Linked DNA regions of Homo sapiens: all the other regions are linked to region 6. Evidence: promoter capture Hi-C in 16 types of primary human blood cells and fetal thymus (Javierre and others, 2016). All regions are on one chromosome and are shown on one strand. Each heading gives the region's core, a stretch centred on a gene start or on the middle of the fragment in contact. The rest is flanking DNA. Distances are from core to core; before and after follow the strand shown.

What was found. The method cuts DNA at HindIII sites, captures the fragments that hold promoters and counts their contacts. A CHiCAGO score of 5 or more calls a contact.
Region 1: a contact is called between a fragment that was not itself captured here and the fragment with the promoter of PLBD2 in region 6, in 1 of 17 cell types (fetal thymus). The highest score is 5.2, in fetal thymus.
Region 2: a contact is called between the fragment with the promoter of OAS2 here and the fragment with the promoter of PLBD2 in region 6, in 5 of 17 cell types (naive CD8 T cells, activated CD4 T cells, total CD4 T cells and 2 more). The highest score is 6.8, in naive CD8 T cells.
Region 3: a contact is called between the fragment with the promoter of DTX1 here and the fragment with the promoter of PLBD2 in region 6, in 4 of 17 cell types (naive CD4 T cells, activated CD4 T cells, naive CD8 T cells and 1 more). The highest score is 7.2, in naive CD4 T cells.
Region 4: the fragment with the promoter of OAS3 here is called in contact with the fragment with the promoter of PLBD2 in region 6 in 4 of 17 cell types (total CD4 T cells, activated CD4 T cells, naive CD8 T cells and 1 more); the score reaches 7.0 in total CD4 T cells.
Region 5: a contact is called between a fragment that was not itself captured here and the fragment with the promoter of PLBD2 in region 6, in 2 of 17 cell types (naive B cells and total CD4 T cells). The highest score is 5.6, in naive B cells.

Annotation. Positions count from the first base shown.
Region 1 is chr12:113,094,809-113,098,065 of GRCh38, reverse strand. It overlaps DTX1 (deltex E3 ubiquitin ligase 1), which reads right to left. Exons shown (of 10, transcript NM_004416.3): 7 at 3,119-3,257; 8 at 2,863-3,024; 9 at 2,652-2,741; 10 at 41-1,351. The coding sequence ends at 1,127. Among named protein-coding and RNA genes, the nearest start is that of RASAL1, 39 kb to the left of the region's middle. RefSeq lists an enhancer at 33-574. The HindIII fragment of the contact is 6,635 bases long and covers 1-3,257 here.
Region 2 is chr12:112,976,276-112,979,799 of GRCh38, reverse strand. It overlaps OAS2 (2'-5'-oligoadenylate synthetase 2), which reads right to left and starts at 1,281. Exons shown (of 10, transcript NM_002535.3): 1 at 1,015-1,281. The coding sequence starts at 1,191. RefSeq lists enhancers at 117-266, 377-456, 627-706, 927-1,736. The HindIII fragment of the contact is 12,087 bases long and covers 1-3,524 here.
Region 3 is chr12:113,055,475-113,058,811 of GRCh38, reverse strand. It overlaps DTX1 (deltex E3 ubiquitin ligase 1), which reads right to left and starts at 2,082. Exons shown (of 10, transcript NM_004416.3): 1 at 1,868-2,082; 2 at 361-1,363. The coding sequence starts at 619. RefSeq lists an enhancer at 56-844. The HindIII fragment of the contact is 5,893 bases long and covers 1-2,579 here.
Region 4 is chr12:112,936,825-112,940,215 of GRCh38, reverse strand. It overlaps OAS3 (2'-5'-oligoadenylate synthetase 3), which reads right to left and starts at 1,742. Exons shown (of 16, transcript NM_006187.4): 1 at 1,509-1,742. The coding sequence starts at 1,685. RefSeq lists enhancers at 1-25, 1,024-1,193, 1,617-1,786, 1,750-2,059, 1,954-2,123 and a silencer at 1,440-1,529. The HindIII fragment of the contact is 11,275 bases long and covers 1-3,391 here.
Region 5 is chr12:113,036,032-113,039,204 of GRCh38, reverse strand. No RefSeq gene overlaps it. Among named protein-coding and RNA genes, the nearest start is that of DTX1, 19 kb to the left of the region's middle. The HindIII fragment of the contact is 3,927 bases long and covers 1-3,173 here.
Region 6 is chr12:113,357,211-113,360,783 of GRCh38, reverse strand. PLBD2 (phospholipase B domain containing 2) reads right to left here and starts at 2,197. Exons shown (of 12, transcript NM_173542.4): 1 at 1,894-2,197. The coding sequence starts at 2,183. It overlaps LOC105369989 (a long non-coding RNA gene), which reads left to right and starts at 1,274. Exons shown (of 3, transcript XR_945346.3): 1 at 1,274-1,454. RefSeq lists an enhancer at 939-1,438 and silencers at 1,774-1,833, 1,884-2,383. The HindIII fragment of the contact is 3,133 bases long and covers 528-3,573 here.

The sequences.
Region 1 (3,257 bases), core at 705-3,204, 260 kb after region 6:
AGCCACCCACCCCTCTCTTGGCAGGAAAAGACCAGGCGAGGAGGAGAAAGACCATTTATTTCTCCACCCACAGTGGGACTGGTAGGTTTTGAAAAGAGCAATCGCTGGCATCCCTTTAAATCTTGGCTGACTCCCACCGTGGCAGCCAATCAGCAGAGGCGGAGCTGGTGAGTTGCCTGGGCAACAGGCCCCTGGTTGGCCGAAGACAATTAGCCACCCCACTGCCCACTCCCAACGAAAGGGAAATTGACTCTCTGCTGTCCACTCTGCTTTAAAATACATCGGCCCAAACTAGGCCTCCTCCTTTCGCTCCTGAAGTCAGAAGCGCCAGCCTTTGGCTCTCAAAATTGGGAGCGATTTGGTGGAGAGGATGGGGTAGGGAGGATGGGAGAACAGCGCCTTTATCTGGGACAGACAGAAGGCCTGGAGATGGGAAGGGAGAAGGAGATCAGAGTCCAGAGAGATGAAGAGGCACAGACACAAAATCAGGACCCTCTAGTCCCCGCTCGTGCTGGCCATTCTTTTGTAGAACTGCTCAGTCATCTGGGGGCTTCCACCCCATGGGCCCACAATTGCCCAATCAGTGGGTGGCAGACATGGGTGATGACACGGAATGGGTGAGGCATCTGGGGTACACTGAGTTTCCCGAGTCCCTCTTTGCCCCCCGAGCCCTGGCAGGCCCCTAAGGGCTTGCCCCGCATCCTCCAGTTTGCAGACAAGGCTGTACAGATGCAACTGAGACACAGATGGGGATCCACATGGGGGGGTCATGGGGTCTTTCTGTCTCTTCTCTTCCAGCCTGGGGGCAAGTACAGGCACGTGGGTGTGCGTGCATGAGTTCAACAGGACATGTGTGTTTGTGTGTGAGGGGGCGGGTCTCTGTCTTTTTGGTAGGGAGGTTTCCAGTACTCTCTGCTTGGCCCTCTCAGGGAGCTATGATTCGGGGCCAGCCTGACATGCCATCTCTCTTCATCCCAGCTGCCACCAGGCAGGTCCCCTGAATGGCTGCGGCCCCTTCCGCAGGCTCCTCCCCAGCCCTGAACCTGGGCTACCAGGACACACCTGGCGAAGGAGGCATTTGCCGGACCAGGGGCAAAGCAGGAGGGAAGGTGGGCAGCCTTGGGCCTCAAGCCTTGGCTGCAGCCTCGGATACGCCCTGGGCTGTGAGCTCAGCCAGCACGTTGTCTAGGTAGCTAGCGTCCGGGTAGCCGTGGCCCGTGAGGTTGGATCCAAACTCGGTCTTGTGGTGGATCTCGTTCCACACCACGGTGTCCGACTCGCCCGTGGTGTTGGACGTGCCGATAGTGAAGATGAGTCTTCTCTCCCAGGCCGTGATGAGCAGCCGCAGCACCTGGGGGGACAGGGACACAGTGGGGCCGGGAGGAGGTCACAGGCAGCTTCCAGCCCACCAGCCTCAGCCTCCCTCCCTCCCCTGCCACATCATGGCTACCTTATGGCTTCGTCCATTAGCACCAACTACGTACTGCTGGCTTGGCCATTTCCTTTGCATTTGTATTTCCTGAACTTCCAGTAAAAGCTCTTTCCAAGTTACTTATGTTTGTTTTTTCTTTTCTTTTCTTTCCTTTTCTTTTTTTTCTTTTTCTTTTTTTTTTTTTTTTTTTTTTTGAGGCAGAGTCTTGCTGTGTTGCTCAGGCTGGAGTGCAGCAGTGCAACCAGAGCTCACTGCAGCCTCGAACTCCTGGGCTCCAACAATCGTCCCACATCAGCCTCTCCAAGTCTCACTATGTTGCCCAGATTGGTCTCAAACTCCTGGCCTCAAGTGATCCTCCCACCTCGGCCTCCCCAAGTGCAGGGATTACAGGTGTGCACCACTGCGCTTGGCCTGCCTGTTTTTTTTTTTGTGATGGAGTCTTGCTCTGTCACCCAGGCTGGAGTGCAGTGGGGTGATCTCGACTCAGTGCAACCTCTGCTTCCTGAGTTCAAGCAATTCTCCTGCCTCAGCCTCCCAGGTAGCTGGGACTACAGGCGCACTCCACCACTCCGGATAATTTTTGTATTTTTAGTAGAGACGGGGTTTCACCATGTTGTCCAGGCTGGTCTCAAACTCCTGATCTCGTGATCTGCCCGCCTTAGCCTCCCAAAGTGCTGGGATTAGAGGCATGAGCCACCACACCCGGCCCTGCCTGTTTTTTTCTGGGGTGAAGAAAGCATCTGGCAGCTCTCTGCTCTATTTAGTTTGGACTCCACACTATATTAAAGAGCCACTTGTAAATTAGTTACTAACATTCAAAAGCCTAGAGATTTCCCATGAAAATCTGGATTTCTTGGTGCTCTTGAAAAGCAGAAAGTCAAATCAGACAACCTGTAGGGTGGTGGTGACAGCTTGGACTGCCTGGGCTCAAATCCCAGCTCCGCCACTTAGTTTCTCTGTGACCACAGTCAAGTGACTTGCCCTTTCTGAAGCCTTGTGTCTTTGTCTATAAAATGGGGTCAGGATCTTGACCTCAGTGGCTCAGGAAACGAGATAAGATGTGTGAAGGAGGTGGCTGTGGTCGTTACTGTTCGGGTGCTGCTTTTGGGAGGAATGTGAGAGCAGGGATTGGGAATGATGGGGACCACAGGCCCAGGCCAGTGGTTGCTGGAGCCCCTGCCTGTGCCTATCTCCCATGCCCTCACGGCTGGGCACCCACCTTCCGGCCTTTCTCGTTGTTGGGTAGATAGCAGTGGCGAGGGAATCCTCTTGCGGTGAACTTCTTCCCGGGGTTGGGGTGCTCAGGGCCCTGCAGAGAGGGACAGTACAGGGATTTAGACCATGAACAGGTGGTGGCAGGGTGGAGAAGCATCTGGAGGAGTTGGAGGGGTGTGGGGGCTGGGGGCCAGAGAGGCGGAAGGGGAGCCCACCTGGATGCCTGTGGGGATGTCATAGACGATGCGGATGGTCTGGGTATCAGGGAAGCCGGGCAGCGAGTGGGGGATGAGGTGGAACTCCATCTTCCCAGGCGGCTGCGTACCCGTCTTCTCCCCGTAGATGGCCTTGCAGGTGGGGCACTGCAGGCTGCCATCCTGGGCAGGGGAGGCTGGCAGTGAGTTCCCAGCACCCCCCCAAACCCCACTCCGTTCCCTGCCCACTCCTCAGCCATTGTCCCGCCCAACCCACCTTGTTGCCATTGGAGTACATGGCCACGAGGCACAGCAGGTGGTACATGTGGCCACAGCGGCCCAGGCGGCCCACGAGCTCAGGCCGCACGCCCTTGTGCCGAAGCACGCCCTCGTAGCCTGATGCTGTGACCAGTCGC
Region 2 (3,524 bases), core at 32-2,531, 380 kb after region 6:
GATTGCCTACCTGGGTTTGGAGGTGCTGACTGGATCGGGGGCCCAGGGCTCTGGGGGGCTGAGAATGTTTTGTTTCTGGATCTGGGTGGGGGTTACACAGTTACATTGTTTGTGGCTACCTATCAAGCTGGACACTTTGATCTGGGCACTTTTTCTGTTTTACTTCCATGAGGAAAAAAAAATTGAGAGGCAGGATAGTGTAGTGGTTAAACATGCATGCCCTCAAGCCAATTACCCAGGCTTAAAATCCCAGTTCTGACAATAGCTATTAACCAAACTTGCCTTAGCTTGCTGGCCTGGGCCAGGGCTGGGGACACCACGTGTCTAGATTTCTTTATTGAGGCACTAGCGGATGTGTGCAAGGGGTAGAGACCAAAAAGTGTGGCAGCAGCAGAGAAGGGACGTCAGCAGCTCAGGAGGCTAAGAGGATAGTATTGGGCCATCAGGACCCCCACGCCCCCAATTCTAGGGTCCTGGCATCTCCCCAGTCCCCCTTCCTCCCCAGAGGTCCAGAATTTTCAGCCTCAGTCCTGAGATTTGTGTCCACAAAACCAAATATTTCTAACTGATAAAAGCCACTCCTTCTTGCTGCGGAGAAACCACAAGGCAACCTGGGTAGTTTGAACAAAGTTCTCTAGCCTCCCTAAGTTTACTCCTCTGTACTGTGGAGAGGATAGAAGAAAATCGCAGTGAGTAATCACAGTGAATTCACTGAGCACTGCCAGTCTTTTGCTAAGAACATGATGTGCTCAAGCCTTACGATACTCTGAAGTGGGTATTATGCCTCTCCCCATTTTACAGAGTCAGAGACTGAGGCACAGAGAGGTTAAGTAGCCTGCCCAGTGTCACACAGCTCTGGAGCAAGCGCCTGCTCCAGAGCCTGAGACTCCTACACCACATCCCACCCAAGTGTGGGCCTCGCACATAATAGGCACCCAGCACCCAGTAGCTCGGCCTTGCTGCCGCCGTGGAATCTCCTGCCTCCCAGAGACCCAACCTCAGCCCTGGACTCACTATGGCCACTCCCTGCACCAGGGGGAACTGTTCGGGTTCCTGCAGGACGTCACAGATGGTGTTCACCATCTCGTCGATCAGTGTCTGACATTCTTCGTAGGGCTTCAGGTATTCCTGGATAAACCAACCCAGCTTCTGAGCAGGCACCGAGGACAGCTGGGACTCCCCATTTCCCATTGCTCTCAGCTGGCTGCCGGCAAGACAGTGAATGGTAGGATGGGAGGCAGAGGAATTCTTGCTGCTGCCCAGAGCCAGGAAACTGAAACTGAAGTCTAGAGGCCTCTCTCCACCCACTGCAGCGAGCTTACCAACTCTTGTATCCGGGACAGGGAAACAAAACTAACTTAAGCTCAGAGGCTCTGCCCTGCCCCTTGCAGTGAGTTTACCAACTCCTGCATCCGGGGCAGGGAAACCAAAACTAACTTAAGCTCAAATGCTCTTCCCCGCCCCTTGCAGCAAGGTTTACTGACTCCTGCACCCCAGCAGGGAAACCAAAACTGACTCAAGCTCAGAGGCTTTCCCTGTCCCCGGCAGCGTGGTGACCAGCCCTTCAGGGGCTCCCCAAAACTTGAGGTTAACTAAACAGCCTCTAGAACCCCATTGTGAGGGCTTCATACCTGCTAGATGTCTGTCCTTGAGCACATCGCCTGCCCTCTTCGCGCCTCAATTCCCCCATCTGTAAGCTGGGGGAAAATGGCAGCTCTCTCGTAGGATTAGCTTGATGATTAAATAATACCTGCAAAGTGCTTAGAAGCAGGGGCGCACAGGTCATCTTTTGAGGCTCTGTCCCTTTCCCCCTGTTCTCAGTGGCCAGGGAACTCACATTCAGGGAAAGCGGCAGAGAGGAAAAAGAGACCCAGAGAGGGAACTGACTTGCTCAGGGACACACAGCAAAGCAGGGACCTAGCTGGACTCAGGTTTTGGTCTGCTTCTGGGTAAACACAGGCCCCCGTGTGGTCAGCGGGTGGGAACCTCTGTGTGTCCAGTTTCTCAGCACACTTGTGGACAGCCGAGGGACCGTATGAGGCACTTGTCCAGCCTCGCAAGGGCAAGAAAACACACCCCAAGTGTGTGAGCCAGAAAGGAGACAGACATGCAACTCCTGTGCCCAGAGCTTTGAAAACAAAACTCGCAGAGGACTCCCAGCCAGCTGCCTTGGCCCAGCAATAATAATTCACAGAGAAGGCAAAAATCTCCAAGATGTAGTGGGGGACCAGGGCCCTTCCATACTGGGATGGTTAATTTTATGTGTCAAGTTGGCTGAGCCCAGGTACCCAGATATTTGGTCAAACATTATCCTAGATCTTTTTGTGAAGGTATTTTTTAAAGATAAGATTAACATTTACATTGGTAGACTTTTTTTTTGAGTAAAGTGGATTATCATCTGTAAGGTGGTGGGCCTGATTCAATCAGTTGAAGGCCTTAATAGACTAAAGACTGAGCTCCCCCAAGGAAGAGGGAATTCGGCTGCAGTGCCTTGGCCTCCACTTGCAGCAGCAACTCCTTCCTGGGTCTCCCACCTGCCAGTCTACCCTGCCGATTTTGGATTTGCCAGCCTCCACAATCACATGAGCCAATTCCTTAAAATAAATACCTCAAAATAAATATAAATACCCTGTTAGTTCTGGAAAAACCTCGATTAATGCACATGCTCATTAAGGGCCTTTCCTGCCCTTATCCAACTTTTACTGCAACACCGAGAGGTAGGCAGGCTGGGCAGGCGTAGTCCTAAGGTTCCTTTTTCAGATGAGAACATGGAGGCTCACAAAGGTGGAAACATTTGCCCGTGATCACACAGCTAGGAAGTTGTCAGGCTAGGTTCTCACACTAACACACTGCCTGACTCCAAAGCCTGTGCTTTATTTGTTATTTAAAAAAACACTTTATTTTGAAGTAATTTGAAATGCTGAGAAAATTTACAAGATGCACACAAAGAACTTCCTTAGACTTTTTAGCCATTATATTTTTTACCACATTTGCCCCTCATTTTCTTGCTATTTATACATTTTAGGAGGTTTTTGTTTTGTTTTGTTTTTGAGACAGAGTCTCACTCTGTCACCCAGGCTGGAGTGCAGTGGCGTGATTATAGCTCACTGTAGCCTCACCCTCCCAAGCTCAAGCAATCTTCCTACTTCAGCCTCCTGAGTAGCTGGGACTATAGGCATGCACCACCATGCCTGGCTAAATTTTTAAAATTTTTTGGTAGAAATGGGGGTCATGATGTCACCATGTTGCCCAGGCTGGGCTCGAACTCCTGGCCTCAAGCGATCTTCCCACCTCAGCCACCCAAAGTGCTGGGATTACAGACCTGAGCCACCACGCCCAGCCCTTCATGAGTATTTTTATTCCTGAACCATTTGAATGCATGTTGCATGATTTATGTCCCTTTACTCCTAAATGCTTCAACCTATATCTCCTAAGAGCAAGAATATTGTGTTACAGAAGCACAGAACAATGGTCCAATTCAGACTTTTATCATTGATACAATGCTATCATCTCATAACATATAT
Region 3 (3,337 bases), core at 833-3,332, 300 kb after region 6:
TAAAGCCCTTATTCTACAATCCCATGCTACTGCTGTTCTAGGTTCTGTGCTCAGTGAGCACAATTTTATTTAATCCTCACTCAGCTGTGAGAGATATTGATCTACCCATTTTGCAGATGAGGAAACTGAGGCTCAGAGAGATGATGCAACTTGCTCAAGGCCCTACAGCTTGCTCAGAGGCTGCATTGGAATCCAAGTCTTAAACTGGACAAGGTTAGACTGCCCTGTTTTTCTGGAGGTGAGGCAGGGAGATGGGGAAGGGATTTGGCATCAGCAGATTTACTGGGATTTTCAGCATCCTACGCTGCAAGGTAGTGATGGCTCGGCGGGGCGGGTGGCATGGGGTGGGTGTCTGCTCACCTGTGTCCTGGCGAAACTGGTGCATGGACTGCAGGTCGATGATGTAGGGCACAAGCTGGGCGTCCACCTGCCCCAGGACCACGGAACCGCGAGCGTCCTCCTTCAGCACGTTCTCAATGTGGTGGCACACGGTGGCCGTGTAGGGCCGCCAGCGGCTGTGCTCATTCAGCCACTCCCACACCACCACCCGGGCCACGTTCTGCGGTGGGAAGCCCAGACCATTCACAGGCATCAGCCCACCGTGGCCTGGCCGTGACATGGCCGCCACTGCCTCAGGGGCCAGGTCCCCCACTATTGCAGGCCCAGCTCCTCCTGGGCCTGGCAGCAGGCGGCAACTTCCTCTCTCCCCAGGGGGACAGCAAGGACCGTCTGGCCTCCTTTCTAACTCTGGGTTCTCTCTGAGGCCTAGAGACCTCCGTTAAAGGAATGTGGGATGGCCATCCAGGCTGCAAAGACCCCTTCCCTGTAGAGCCTTCTCCGATAAAGGGTGCTGCCCTGGAAAGCAAGTGTCTCTCTTATGCCGGAGGAAACAGCTCTAAAGTCCTTGGCCCCCTCGGCTGGCTCAGGTAGGGAGTGAGGCAGCCGCCCCTGTTCGAGGTCCAGCCTCTTCCGTGTTGTCTCTTGGTCCCTCTTCCCCGCCAGACAGGGCCTGTCACCCAGGAGGCCTGGGCCACAGCCTGCTGCTCCTGCGGCTCTCAGCCAGCCCTTTGCACTCCCAACTGCGTCCCAGACCCTGCGCCCGGCTTCAGTGGGGCTTCTCGCCTCCCTCCGGTCTGGGCCCCCTTCTCCGACGGCTCCTGCCGAAGGGGGCGTCCCTGCCCCCTTGTTCCCTCTCCACGGTGTCCTGGAAGGCCTGGGTGGCCGCAGAACGCACGGGGGAGGGGTGCGGCGTGGACCCTCGGGCGGCGCGCCTGGACTGCGGCTCCGGAGCTGGGCTGGGGGACGAGGGGGACGAGGGGGGCGGGGGCCCGTGGGCACGCCCCACCCCACTCGTGCTCGCGACCTGCCAGGAGACAAGAGGGGAGAGGGCCCTTTAAGAGGAGAGCGCAGCACCCCCTCCCCCCTTCCCAGGAGAGCATTCGGCTGAGAACAATGGGGAACCGAAGGGGGACAGCAAGGGGGGCGTACGGGGTCGCCCCGCCCGCTTTCCCTTGGGGCAGGCCTGGAGGGAAGGCAGGGGCCGGGGGCGCGGTTTTCCGAGACTCTCCGCCTGGGGGGCGCCCTCCTTGGCTCCCGGAGCCTTCCCTTCCCCCGGGGCCCTCGCCCTGCCGGGGGGATGCCGGGTGCGCTGGGGTGCGCCGGGAAGCACGGGGATGCGCGGCGCTGCAGGCGCGGCCCAGGGCCCCTCGGGGGTCGCGTCGCGGAGGGGGCGAAGCCAGGAGCTGGATCGTCTCTGCCTCCCGCCCTGGGGGTAACAGCCCCGCTTCCCCAGCCCAGACGTCCCCGAGCCGCTCGCGGGCCCCCAGCGGGAGCCGGGGGTGGGGTCCCTAAGCACCCGCGTTCTCACCGCCTCTCTTCGTCTCCGGCTCCGGCTCCGGCTCGCGCTCCAGCACCGCCGCCTCCTGGGCTCCCCCCGGAGTGGGAGGGAGCCGCGGTCCCGCCTCCGCGCCCGTTCCCTCCCAGGCCCCTCGGCCGCCGCGCCGAGCTTTCCGCGCGTGGACAGACTGCCCGGCCGACGGACGGACGCAGGAGCCGGCTGGCGGCCGCCGGGATCTCGCGGGTGGGAGGAGGCCTCGGCCGTGCTCCGGGAGGGAGAGGGGAGGGGGCGGAGGAGGAGGAAGGGGAGGAGACAGATCTCGGCCCTGAGCGCCACCGGCGCTGACACGCGAGTCTCGGGGCGCCCCAAATCCTCGGCCAGGCCCTCCCGAGACCCCAAGGGGCCTTCTGACCCCAAGCAGAGCGTGAGGCAGGGAGTGGGATGTTTAGGAGTCACCGGCTTGAATCTTTGTCATCTTTATTTCCAGTCTCCCAGTCCAGGGCCTGGCACTGAATAGGTGCTCAATAAATGCTTGAATGAATGAATAAGATCCAGAGACTGTCTAAAGAAAGATCTTGAAGCATTCAGAGCTAGCCTCCTTTCCTCCTCTAACTATTCCTGGGGGTGGGAGGGTGCTGACAAGGCCTGATTCAGACTCAGTTGGAACCGTGGAATCTGAAGAGTACAGATGAGGAGACTGAAGCCAGAGAGAGTAAGAGCCAGGCCCAGGATCACAAAAGCTTAGAGCGATGCCCAGACACCAACCCCGATCTGAATCTCCTGCCAGTACCCAGTTCCCAGCCCTGAGCCCACTTCCCCCAAAGCACCCACCTGCTCCAGGTGAGAGGGGTGGGACCAGGGGAGGGGACCCTGGCCAGGAGGTGAGATCCTGGAGGAAGAGAAGGGCAGGCCCTCTGCCATGTCATTCACAGCCACCTGCAAACAACTGGTGCTCAATAAATGGTGGGTGAGCATTGGTTGGATGGAAGGGAAGGCTGGAAATGGCAGCGGCTCAAGTGTTAACGGGATGGCCAGTCCCCCTGTCCTCCAGCAAGCTGGATGCGGCTGAGACACACATTGGCTGGGAGGGGGGTGGACCACCTGGGGCCTGGGGGTGTTTAGATTGGGGAAGATGAAGGATGCGTCCGGGAACTCCAGCCTGGGTGGCTGACGGGGGTCAGTGGCCTGTTTGGGCGCCTGCCCAGAGCAGCCCACGCCTGCCTCCCCGGGGCAGATGGGGATACACTAGGCAGGGTCAGGGGCAGGCTGCTCAGGGGTGCTTTCCCAGAATCCAGCTCTGGCTCTCCGGCCAGCTGGAGGGACCTCCCCTCCCCAGGCCCCTGCTCTGACCTGCAGCCCAGTGTTGGATGGGCTTTTTCAGATTGGGTCAATGATTCTGCTTGCTTTCACCTGCTGTAGACTAAAGAGAGAGGCTTTGCATAGGGCAGGGCCAAGTCTGACGATACTCCCACAGGATCACTGAGTTCTGGGATTTTAGCC
Region 4 (3,391 bases), core at 493-2,992, 420 kb after region 6:
CACTTCCTGCACGTTTTGCACACTCTCATCTCATTGAACCTTCCTCACAGCCCCAGAAGGAAGGTACCACTTTACAAAAGAGGAAACGAAAGCACAGGGAGATTGCACCGTGCTCACTTTACAAAGGAGACAATGAAAGCACAGGGAGATTGTGCTCCAGAACCCCCTCCCACCCCTTTCCAGGGAAGCTAAGGATGCCAGGGCTTTCCCTTGCTGCACAGAAATCCCTCCTGTCCATCTCCAAGGTAGAAACGGGACTTCACACCTCCTAGGCGACAAGTGTCTCCTCCTTCCCCACCTCCCAAGCTGAGAGTCAGCCCCAGGAAACCACTAGGTGCTCTGAGGCCATTTCTACTCTGCGTTTTCACTCCCTCTCCTGACAACCTCCTCTAGCACACCCAGGTTCCCTCCATCAATCCACTCCTGGCACCCCCAAATCTACCCTGAGGATAAGGTAGCTCATGACTTGTCTCCTCCCTGAATCTGCGAGTGTCCTGGGATCACAGTGGCAGTGTGGCTGTATTTAAGTGACAAAAAGTGACCCGGAGCCTGGGCAACATGGTGAAATCCCGTCTCTACAAAAAATGCAAAAATTACCTGGGCATGGTGGCTCACACCTGTAATCCCAGCACTTTGAAAGGCCAAGGCAAGTGGATCACTTGAGCCCAGGAGTTCCAGGCCAGCCTGGGCAACACGGCAAAACTCTATCTCTACAAAAAATGCAAATAATTAGCCAGGCATGGTAGTGTGCACCTGTAGTGCCAGCTACTTGGGAGGCTGAGGTGTGAGAATAACTTGAGCCCAGGAGGCGGAGGTTGCTGTGAGCCAAGATCATGCTACTGCACTCCAGCCTGGGTGACAGAGCGAGACCCTGTCTCAAAAAAAAAAAAAAAAAAAAAAAAAAAAAAAGATGTGACTCAGAGTAGTAATTTAGCGTCTAGCCTCAGTTTCCCTATCCATAAAACAGGTACAATAATACCTGCCTCACTGAACGTGGGGATGAAATGAGGTAATACTCATTTAATGAGATAATTTTCATTGTTATTTGATAATGTCTCAATAAATTGGGCTACTCTGGCTGTTACGCGGAGTGTTATTACTTCTGTAACCTTAAGGTCTGGCATAGTGTGAGGCCCACAGTCTGTTTGAATGACTGGGAGAATGAGTGAATGAGTGAATGAATGGATAAGAAGCAGCCTCTGAGAGTAGAGATGCAGGAATCAGGCTACTTGGATTTGAATCCTGGCTGGGCCTCTTACAGGATCGGACACGTCACTGTACCTCTCTGTGCCTCATTTTCTCTATCTGTCAAGCGGGCTTAAGAGTACCTACCTGGCTCGTATGTTCGGGGGAGTTAGCACGGGGCTGGCACATTGGAAGTATTTGTTAAAGAAATGAATGAGGTGCACAAGCGGATAAAGCCACCCCCACCGTAAGCCTATGTGAGGCTTAAGCGTCCTCCCAGGACTCCCCTTTGGACACATAAAGACCCCGAGGTGGGACCTCACCTTGACAGTTTTCAGCACCCGCGGGGCAGCAGCACCGAGGCGGCCCCCGCGCTCCCTCAGGGCAGCGGCCAGGGCGCCCAGAGCGCGCCGCGCCTTCTCTACGAACTCCTTCCGCGGCTGCAGCCTTCTGGCCACGAACCTGTCCAGCGCAGCGGCCGGGGTGCTGTACAAGTCCATGGCCGCCCGGCGCAGGTGCAAGGGGAAGCAGGGCTCTGGCGCGGCCTTCGGATTTCTGGTTTCGTTTTCCCGCCCGGCTCTCCGAACCACGCCCAGCTGGCCAGGTCCTAGGTCCTCGGTCCCGCGCGTGGCGTGAAACGGGGAGGGGCGCTGCAGTTCCTGTCTTCCCCAAACTTGGGAAATTCCCTGCTTTCAGTTTCGTTTCTTTCTAGCAGCTCTTGGACCTGACACCCACTTCCTGGTCCCCTTCCCAGCTACGACTTCCTCTCCTTCATCTCCTTGCTTCCAGCCGTCCCTGCAACCACCAGCTCCAACGAACTAATCACAACCTAACAAAGTATACCCACAGAACATATGGGTACATACTGAGTAACGTACTCTGAGCATTTCAGAAACGTGCAGGTTTTACATGGAAAAAAAAGGTCAGGATTTAATAAACGGAGAAGTCCTACCTCGCTGTCTGACTGAGGGATGCGTTCTAAACACCACTACCACCACCAACGATAATAAAGCACACTTGGAGACTCTCACTGACTCCTCCCAACGACCATGGTGTAGGTGCTATTATCATCACCCATTTGACAGATGAGGAAGTCAAGGTACAGAGGAACTAGGTAACTGTCCAAGGTAACACAGCTGGAAAGTTGTCTGGCTGGATTCAAACCCAGCCCAAGCCCACAGAGCTGCCCTCTTCAGAAGCCAACTCTTCCTAAATAATTTATACGTGTAATGCAGTTCCAATAAAAATTCCATCTTTAAAAACTTCAAACACACGATCTAAAGTCTGTCTGCAAGAATTAAAAATTATTTTGGAGGAGAAGGAGGAAGGAAAGTCAGTCAGTTTAGGATGGTACCTTGCACAACAATACTACATATTAAAACATTGTAAAGCTACAATAGGGAAATCCTCTTGGAATGGGCACAAAGCTAAGCGGACTGTAAGCTATAAGCTGCAGAGTGGAGATTTGAATCCAGGACCATTGCGCTTCTATCTTCATGGCCTGTCTCCTTTTTCTGCTTATTTCCTGCTGCTTCTCCACCCGGGTTCCTAGAGACTGCACACCTGAGCTCTCTTCCAGGCCTGGTCCAAGCCATAGCCTATCTCCTCCTCCCCATCTTACTAAAAAACTCCCAGGTCCTCTCTCCTGTCTGCTCCGGGACCCAGCATTTACTCTGCCTCTGAGTACACTTCAGGTAATAGTCTTAACAAGTGCTTCCTGACATCTGCACGGTAACTGAAAGGAAATAGATAGGATCAGAGTGTGAATTTCAGAGGTCATGGTCAACTAGAGGGAGAGATGCTGGGTCTGTAATATGTACACCAGCTAATATTTTGAGTAGTGAATGCTGCATCACTTGGAATATTCAAGTATGGGCAGGTTTTGTAGGTCAGGTGTTGTGGTGGGGATTTAAGTCAAGGGATTGAGCAATGATTTTCATTCTCGCCCATTAATCACAGTCTTCTTCCTGAGTCACAGGCCACTTTAGAAACTTTCCATTCAAGATAGTGGATTGAACACATGCTCAAAATTCTATTAAAATAGCAGCAAAGATATATTAAAAGCATAATGGAAATCAACAGGGTTGGAAACTGAGAAAAAGTGGAGTCAAGGGGGCGGGACATTTGAGGCATTTTTAGAAGATGGAACGCAGAAGGGTCAATATTGGGTCATGATGGTGGACTGAACATATGCATAAGCCTTCAA
Region 5 (3,173 bases), core at 509-3,008, 320 kb after region 6:
TGAAAGTAACCCCCGTTGGTGAGGGTCTTTCTCTGGGTCTTAAATCAGCATGACTGCAATGGGAGGCACCCAGCCTGGGTGGGGGGGCTGCACCCCGGCTTCAGGGCTCAGTGGGAAGACTTTGGGGGCTTCTTATCATTCAAGGGAGAACAGCTCTTTCTTTCTTTCTCCTTTCTTTCTTTCTTTCTTTCTTTCTTTCTTTCTTTCTTTCTTTCCTCCCTCCCTCCCTCCCTTCTTTCTTTCTTTCTCTTTCTTTCTTTCTTTCTTTCTCTCTCTTTCTCTCTCTCTCTTTCTTTCTCTTTCTTTCTTTCTTTCTTTCTTTCTTTCTTTCTTTCTTTCTTTCTTTCTCTCTCTCTCTCTCTCTCTCTCTTTCTTTCTTTCTTTCTTTCTTTCTTTCTTTCTTTCTTTCTTTCTTTCTTTCTTTCCCTTCTTTTTTTTGAGACAGAATCACTCTGTCACCCAGGCTGGAGTGCAGTGGTGCGATCTCGGTTCACTGCAACCTCCACCTCCCAGGTTCAAGTGATTCTCTTGCCTCAGTCTCCTGAGTAGCTGGGATTACAAATGTGCCCCACCACCCCCAGCTAATTTTTATATTTTTAGTAGTGACACGGTTTCATCATGTTGGCTAGGTTGGTCTCAAACTCCTGGCCTCAAGTGATCTGCTTGCCTCCGCCTCCTAAAGTACTGGGATTACAGGCATGAGCCACTGTGCCTGGTCAATATTTTTGTTTTTGATTACCCATGGCCATTATAACCTTATCTCTGTGCGAAGTGACATCTTAGCTAGAGGGTGTCCTACCCAAAACCAGGTTTTTGGGAGTCCATAGAGTTAAAGAATTAAAAGCTGAGAATTTGGAGATTGAGGGGGCCCAGAGTAGAATTCTGCCAGGCTGCTTGTTTGTGCAGGCTCTTTGGGCAAGGGACTTAACTTCCCTGGGCCTCAGTTTCCCTATTTGTAAAATGTGAATAATGGTCTTCAACTTAGAGGGCAGTTTGGAGGCATTCAGGGCTATGAGGCCCTTATCTCAGGTCTTGTCACAAGGGAAGTGAGTGCTCGGTAAATAGCAGCTGCTCTTGTCACCTTCGCCTGGGCCAGATCAGGGCCCGCAGCAGGTTCCTTCTTTTCCCTGGCCATCCCTCTTCACTCAGCCTGCAGTGAGCAGCATTGCTGGCTTCCTGGAGGAGGCCATCTCAGTCTTCTAAATCAAGCTGGACAGTGGGGCATGCATTGCCCATCAGTAGGGACATTGGGACTCAGAGCAGCTTTGAAACAGCAGGGCCCGATAGTGCCCCTGAAATGTGGTTTGCTAATGAAGTTTCTGCCTTGGCTCTGGGCCTTTCTGAACTGTTTACTGCAGGAGGACTGTGAGCCTTTAGTTGCCTGCAGGAGGAGGCAGGTAGAAGACAGTGAGGCTCCCCAGCGTCCAGCGGAGTTGAGGTCCCAAATCTTATACAGTGAGGATTCCAGGGTGTGAGCATGGGAATACTTCCTGATCAAGACCTGGGCAGTGACCTTGGGTTAGAGAGCTGCTCTGAGCCTCAGTTTCCCCCTCGGTCAGATGGAGATGAAAATACCTACCTCATAGGCAAGGATCCAATGAGGATGAATGAAAACTTCGAGCTGAGCACACAGAACACTCTAAGAGTGAGCTGCTTTTGTTCTCTCTGCTTTGGACAGGATGCCCAGGGCTGAGCCTAGCTTGCTTTGGATGAGTGAAAAATAAGATAGGGATGTAACCCAGTGTATTTAGTCCAACAGGATTTCCCAAGAGCCCTTAAGAAGAGTTATGGGCCAGGTGCGGTGGCTCACACCCGTAATGCCAGCACTTTGGGAGGCCAAGGTGGATAGATCACCTGAGGTCAGGAGTTCGAGACCAGCCTGGCCAACATGGTGAAACCCCATCTCTACTAAAAATACGCCAGGCATGATGGCAGGTGCCTGTAATCCCAGCTACTTGGGAGGCTGAGGCTGGAGAATTGCTTGAACCCAGAAGGCGGAGGTTGCAGTGAGCCGAGATTGCGCCATTGCAATTGCACTCCAGCCTGTGCGACAGAGCGAGACTCTGTCTCAAAAAAAAAAAAAAAAAAAGGAAAAGTTATGAGTTAGCATTAAGCTGGAGCTTGACCTGGGCCTGGTAAATTCAGTTGGGTGGGGGTGCAGGCTGGGGTGTTTATGCCCCAAAGGAGGATGGTGGTGTTAGGGTGGGGACAGGTGGGTTTGGTGGCAGTAGGAGACAGACCTGGAGGTGGGCGGGTGCTAGCTTTGTATGGGCTGCCCACCGTGTGATGGAGGACATACACAGGTGCTTCTGCACTGCCACACTTAGCGTGTGGGGTCGCATGCACATCACCTTGTCCTTGTTAAATGGCTGTCGCAGCTACAGACCTGATATTGCATCAAGGGCAAATAAGGGGAACCCGGGTGGTGGTGGCTGAGGCTGTTCCTTTTATCAGGAAAGTAAAAACTCTCTGAAACCTCCTAGCAGATTTCTCCATCAGTCCCATCCGTCAGCATCGCGATCCAGCACAAGGCCCCCTTTAGCTATGAAAGACTCTGAGAAGAGACTCAGGTTTTCAGCCCCTGCAGTGAGAAGCAGCAGGGGAGAAGGCGTGGGGATGGCTGTTGGGTCCATCCGTTGATTGTGTCCCTCTCAGCTATGTGAACCCCACTGGTACCTGGGGGCCACTCACTCACCTCTTCTTTCTTCTGGACTTCTACCTGAACACTCTAGGTTCTTAGCTACTGCCAGGGACAGCTTCCCAACTGTGTCACACAGAGCCCTTCAGTCAGAAGTGCCCTTGGTTAAACACTCTGGTGGTATAGCCTTAACACTTTTTGTTTGTTTGTTTGTTTGTTTGTTTTGAGACAGAGTCTCGCTGTATCACCCAGGCTGGAGTGCGGCAGTACAGTCATGGCTCACTGCACCCTCGATCTCCTGGGCTCAAGCGAGCCTCCCTCCTCGACCTCCTAAATAGCTGGGACTACAGACTCATGTCACCACAGCCACCTAAATTGTTAAATTTTTTGTAGAGATGGGGTCTCACTATGTTGCCCAGGCTGGTCTCCAACTCTTGTCCTCAAGTGATCCTCCCACCTTGGCCTTCCAAAGTGCTGGGATTACAGGCGTGAGCCACCGTGCCCAGCCAGTCTTTAAACTCTTGAGACTTTTTCA
Region 6 (3,573 bases), core at 948-3,447:
CTTGGGAGGCTGAGACACGAGAATCGCTTGAACCCAGGGTGGGGAGGTTGCAGTGAGCCAATATCGTGCCCCTGCACTCCAGCTGGGCAACGGAGTGAAACTGTGTCTCAAAAAATAAAATACAAATAAAAATAAATAAACAGTGCTTTCTGTGACCCCAGTGAATTTCCATGACCCTTTTGGTCCTACCTTGATATGAGGGAACATGCTCAGAGAGGTGAAGGGATTTGCCCAAGGTCACACAGCAGAGGGGCTGAGCCTGGAAGAACTTTCCATCCAGCACAATCAAGGAAGCCTTCTCTCCACTTCCATGTTTACCATAGTCAAGAGCAACACAGCCCAGGAGGGGCCTCCAGAGGCCAAAGCCCCCTCCCCATGCTGGGCCTCGCTCCTGCCCCTCCTCGCCTGAACAGTTCTGTCATGTCCTCTTGATTCTGCTATGCAGGGCCAAAAACATGAGTGAGTCAGCAAAGAACGGGTCACCAGATCCAAGAGTCCCGGCAGCCCCCGAGGCCAGCCACAAAGCTTCAGTTCCCTCCACAGATGCCAGCTCACTCTGTGGCCTCCTCTCTCTGGGAGCCTTCCCAGATTTACCCCAACCAGTGCCCCTGTGTCTGTGCAAATATCTCCCCCAAATCTCACGTCTACTTGATGTACCCCCCAAGTGCCACCAGAATGGGGGTGTCCTCGGCATCCTGTGTCTCCCTAACACCTGCAGAAGCCAATGGATGCCAGTAAAATGGATAGGGGCTAAAGTGGGAGGAGGCCCTTTCTGCTGCAGGGGGCAGTGTGGTCTGAGCACAGACCACATCCTGGGCACATCCTAGTGCTAGGGTTCCCTAGCATCATCTGGACACTAGGATATGACGGATGCACCCCGGGTTCCCTAGGATCCCCCAGCACAGCCTGATCCAGCGTCTGGGCCCTGCTGACAAGGCTTTGAAGCTGATCCTTCCCACTCCCACTGACTCTGATTTCTCTTCTATCGCTGTCTGTGTTTCCCACTGAGTAGAGACAGCTGCTCAGCTGTGTCCCTAAGGCCAACCATCAGGGTAATGAATAAATGAATGGGCACAAGCCCTTGTACAGAACTTGCAGCACATGACCACCCAACTAGAGCACATCCTCAAAATCTGGGCCACAGATGGGGAAACGGGAGCCCAGACAGGCGGAGGAGTTAGGTGAGACTCACACATCAGAATGACAGCCTGGGTTCCAGCAATAAAGATGGTGAGCATGGCTGCCAAACACGGCATCCAGCCAAGGACTTCCCCTTGGACCAGGACACAGAAGACAAGGGAGGAGCAGAGCCCTAGCAGGATACTAAATGGGTCTATGTGACTTTAGGGACCCTCTGCTTTTGGACTAGCCTGGAACCCAGGTTCAGTCCTGCTGACCTGGCACTGGAAGGGAGGCAGGGTGCTGGCACCCACGAGCAAGCCACAGCCAAGCAGGTAAGAATTAGTCTCCTGCTGAGTTCTCATCACCCCTCAGGCCTGGGGACAGGGGGCTGGCCTCCATGGGGTGAGGAGGCAAAGTCTAGGGAAGGGAGCAGGTCCCCGTGAGGATAGAATTTACCCACCAGCCATGGACCTGATCCAGATGCAGGCACTGCGGCCTCGGTGGTAGGGAACTGGCTTCTTGGGGACAGAAGTACTGTCACCACTGGCTGAAGGCAAGGGACTGGCCCCATGAGGTGAGGGATGCCGCAGTAGCCAGCTCCCAAACAGGGTACTTGGCCCGCAGGGCGGTGCTGCAGCCTCGGGAGTAGCTGACCCCCAGAGAAACGGGCGTTCCCACCCGGCAAGAGGCCGGTCCCGGGAACAGGCGAGGTCCGGCGCCCACGCATCCCCCTCCCCCGATGGCCCCGCGTGGGGATAAGCCAACCCTTACCCAGTCTCGCGGATGGCGTTGGTGAGGTTGGCCCAGGCCACGGCGTCAGGGTGGCGTCCGTCCACCATAAGCAGCTGGCCCGCCGAGACGTCCAGGAGCACCGAGCGGCTGCGGGAGGCTGGAGGGACCTGCCCATCGCGCGCCCAGCGGCCCCCCGGCGCTGGGATCGCCCCCGCCAGGCCGCTCAGGAACGGCCCGACCAGCAGGGCCAGCACCAGGGCCAGCGCCAGCGCCCGCGTCAGCGCCCGGGCCAGGTGGCTGCCGGGGTAGCAGTACATCTGGCCCACCATGACCGCACAATGCTGCGCCCCGCAGCCCGGGTCACGTGACTGCGCTCTGCCATGGGCGGGGCCGAGGGCGGGCGGGGCCGGGCTTGGGCTGAGCCTTTCCGGGATGGGAGGGGCTGGCGCGAGGGGAGGCCTACGGGGCGGGACCCACCTTAAAGAGCCCGGCCGCCCCTTCCACCTACGCAAACCCGGTTTAGCACACTTCCCCAAGTTTTTTTTTTTTTTTTTTTTTGAGACAAGACAAAACCTCCATATGTCGCCCAGACTGGAGTGCAGTGACGCGATCTCGGCTCATTGCCACCTCCGCCTCCCGGGTTCAAGCGATTCTCCTGCCTCATCCTCCTGAGTAGGTGGGATTACAGGCGCGCACCACCACGCCCAGCTGATTTATGTAATTTCAGTACAGACGGGGTTTCGCCATGTTGGCCAGGCTGGTCTTGAACTCCTGACCTCAGGTGATCCGCCTGCCTCAGCCTCCCAAAGTGCTGGGATTACAGGGGTGAGCCACCGCGCCCGGCCAGATTTATTTAATGGTATTTGCCATTTATTTAATACAGTTATCTAATGCAGTCTTTATTCCAACTTTTCCCATTGTCCCTCAAATACCCTTTTTACATGTGTGTGGGAAAAAGCTGTCTAACTACTACTCAAAACCTAGATGCCGTCGGGCGCGGTGGCTCACGCCTGTAATCCCAACACTCCAGGAGGCCAGGGCGGGCGAGTTCAGGAGTTCAAGACCAGCCTGGGCAACATGGTGAAACCCCCGTCTCTACTAAAAATACAAAAAAGTAGCCGGACGCAGTGAGGCGCGCCTATAGTCCCAGCTACTCGGGAGACTGAGGTAGGAAAATCACCTGAGCCCGGAAGGTCGAGGCTGCAGAGAGTCGAGATTGCACCACTGCACTCCAGCCTGAGCAACCAGAATGAGACCTTGTCTCAAAAGAAAAAAAAAAAAAAAAAAACCTAGATGCAATAAAAGATTAATGCATTTGACTGTATAAATTTTTTAACTTTTTCATGTCAAAAAACTCAATAAGCAAAGTCAAAAGACATCTGACAGACCAGGAGAAACTATTTGCAACATATATCATATATATACATTACATATATATATGTATATATATCTCAACATATATCATATAATATATCAGGAACTCTTAAAATTTGAGAGGGAAGGCCAGGTGAGTGGTTCATGCCTGTAATCACAGCACTTTGGGTGGCCAAGGTGGGAGGAATGCTTGAGCCCAGGAGTTTGAGACCAGCCTAGGAAACCTGGCAAGACTCTGTCTCTATAAAATATAAAAATTAGCTGAGCTTGGTGGTGCACACCTGTAGTCCTGTTGTGGGAAACTGAGGAACGGAGAGACCAATATGAGAGAACAGGAGGATGTTT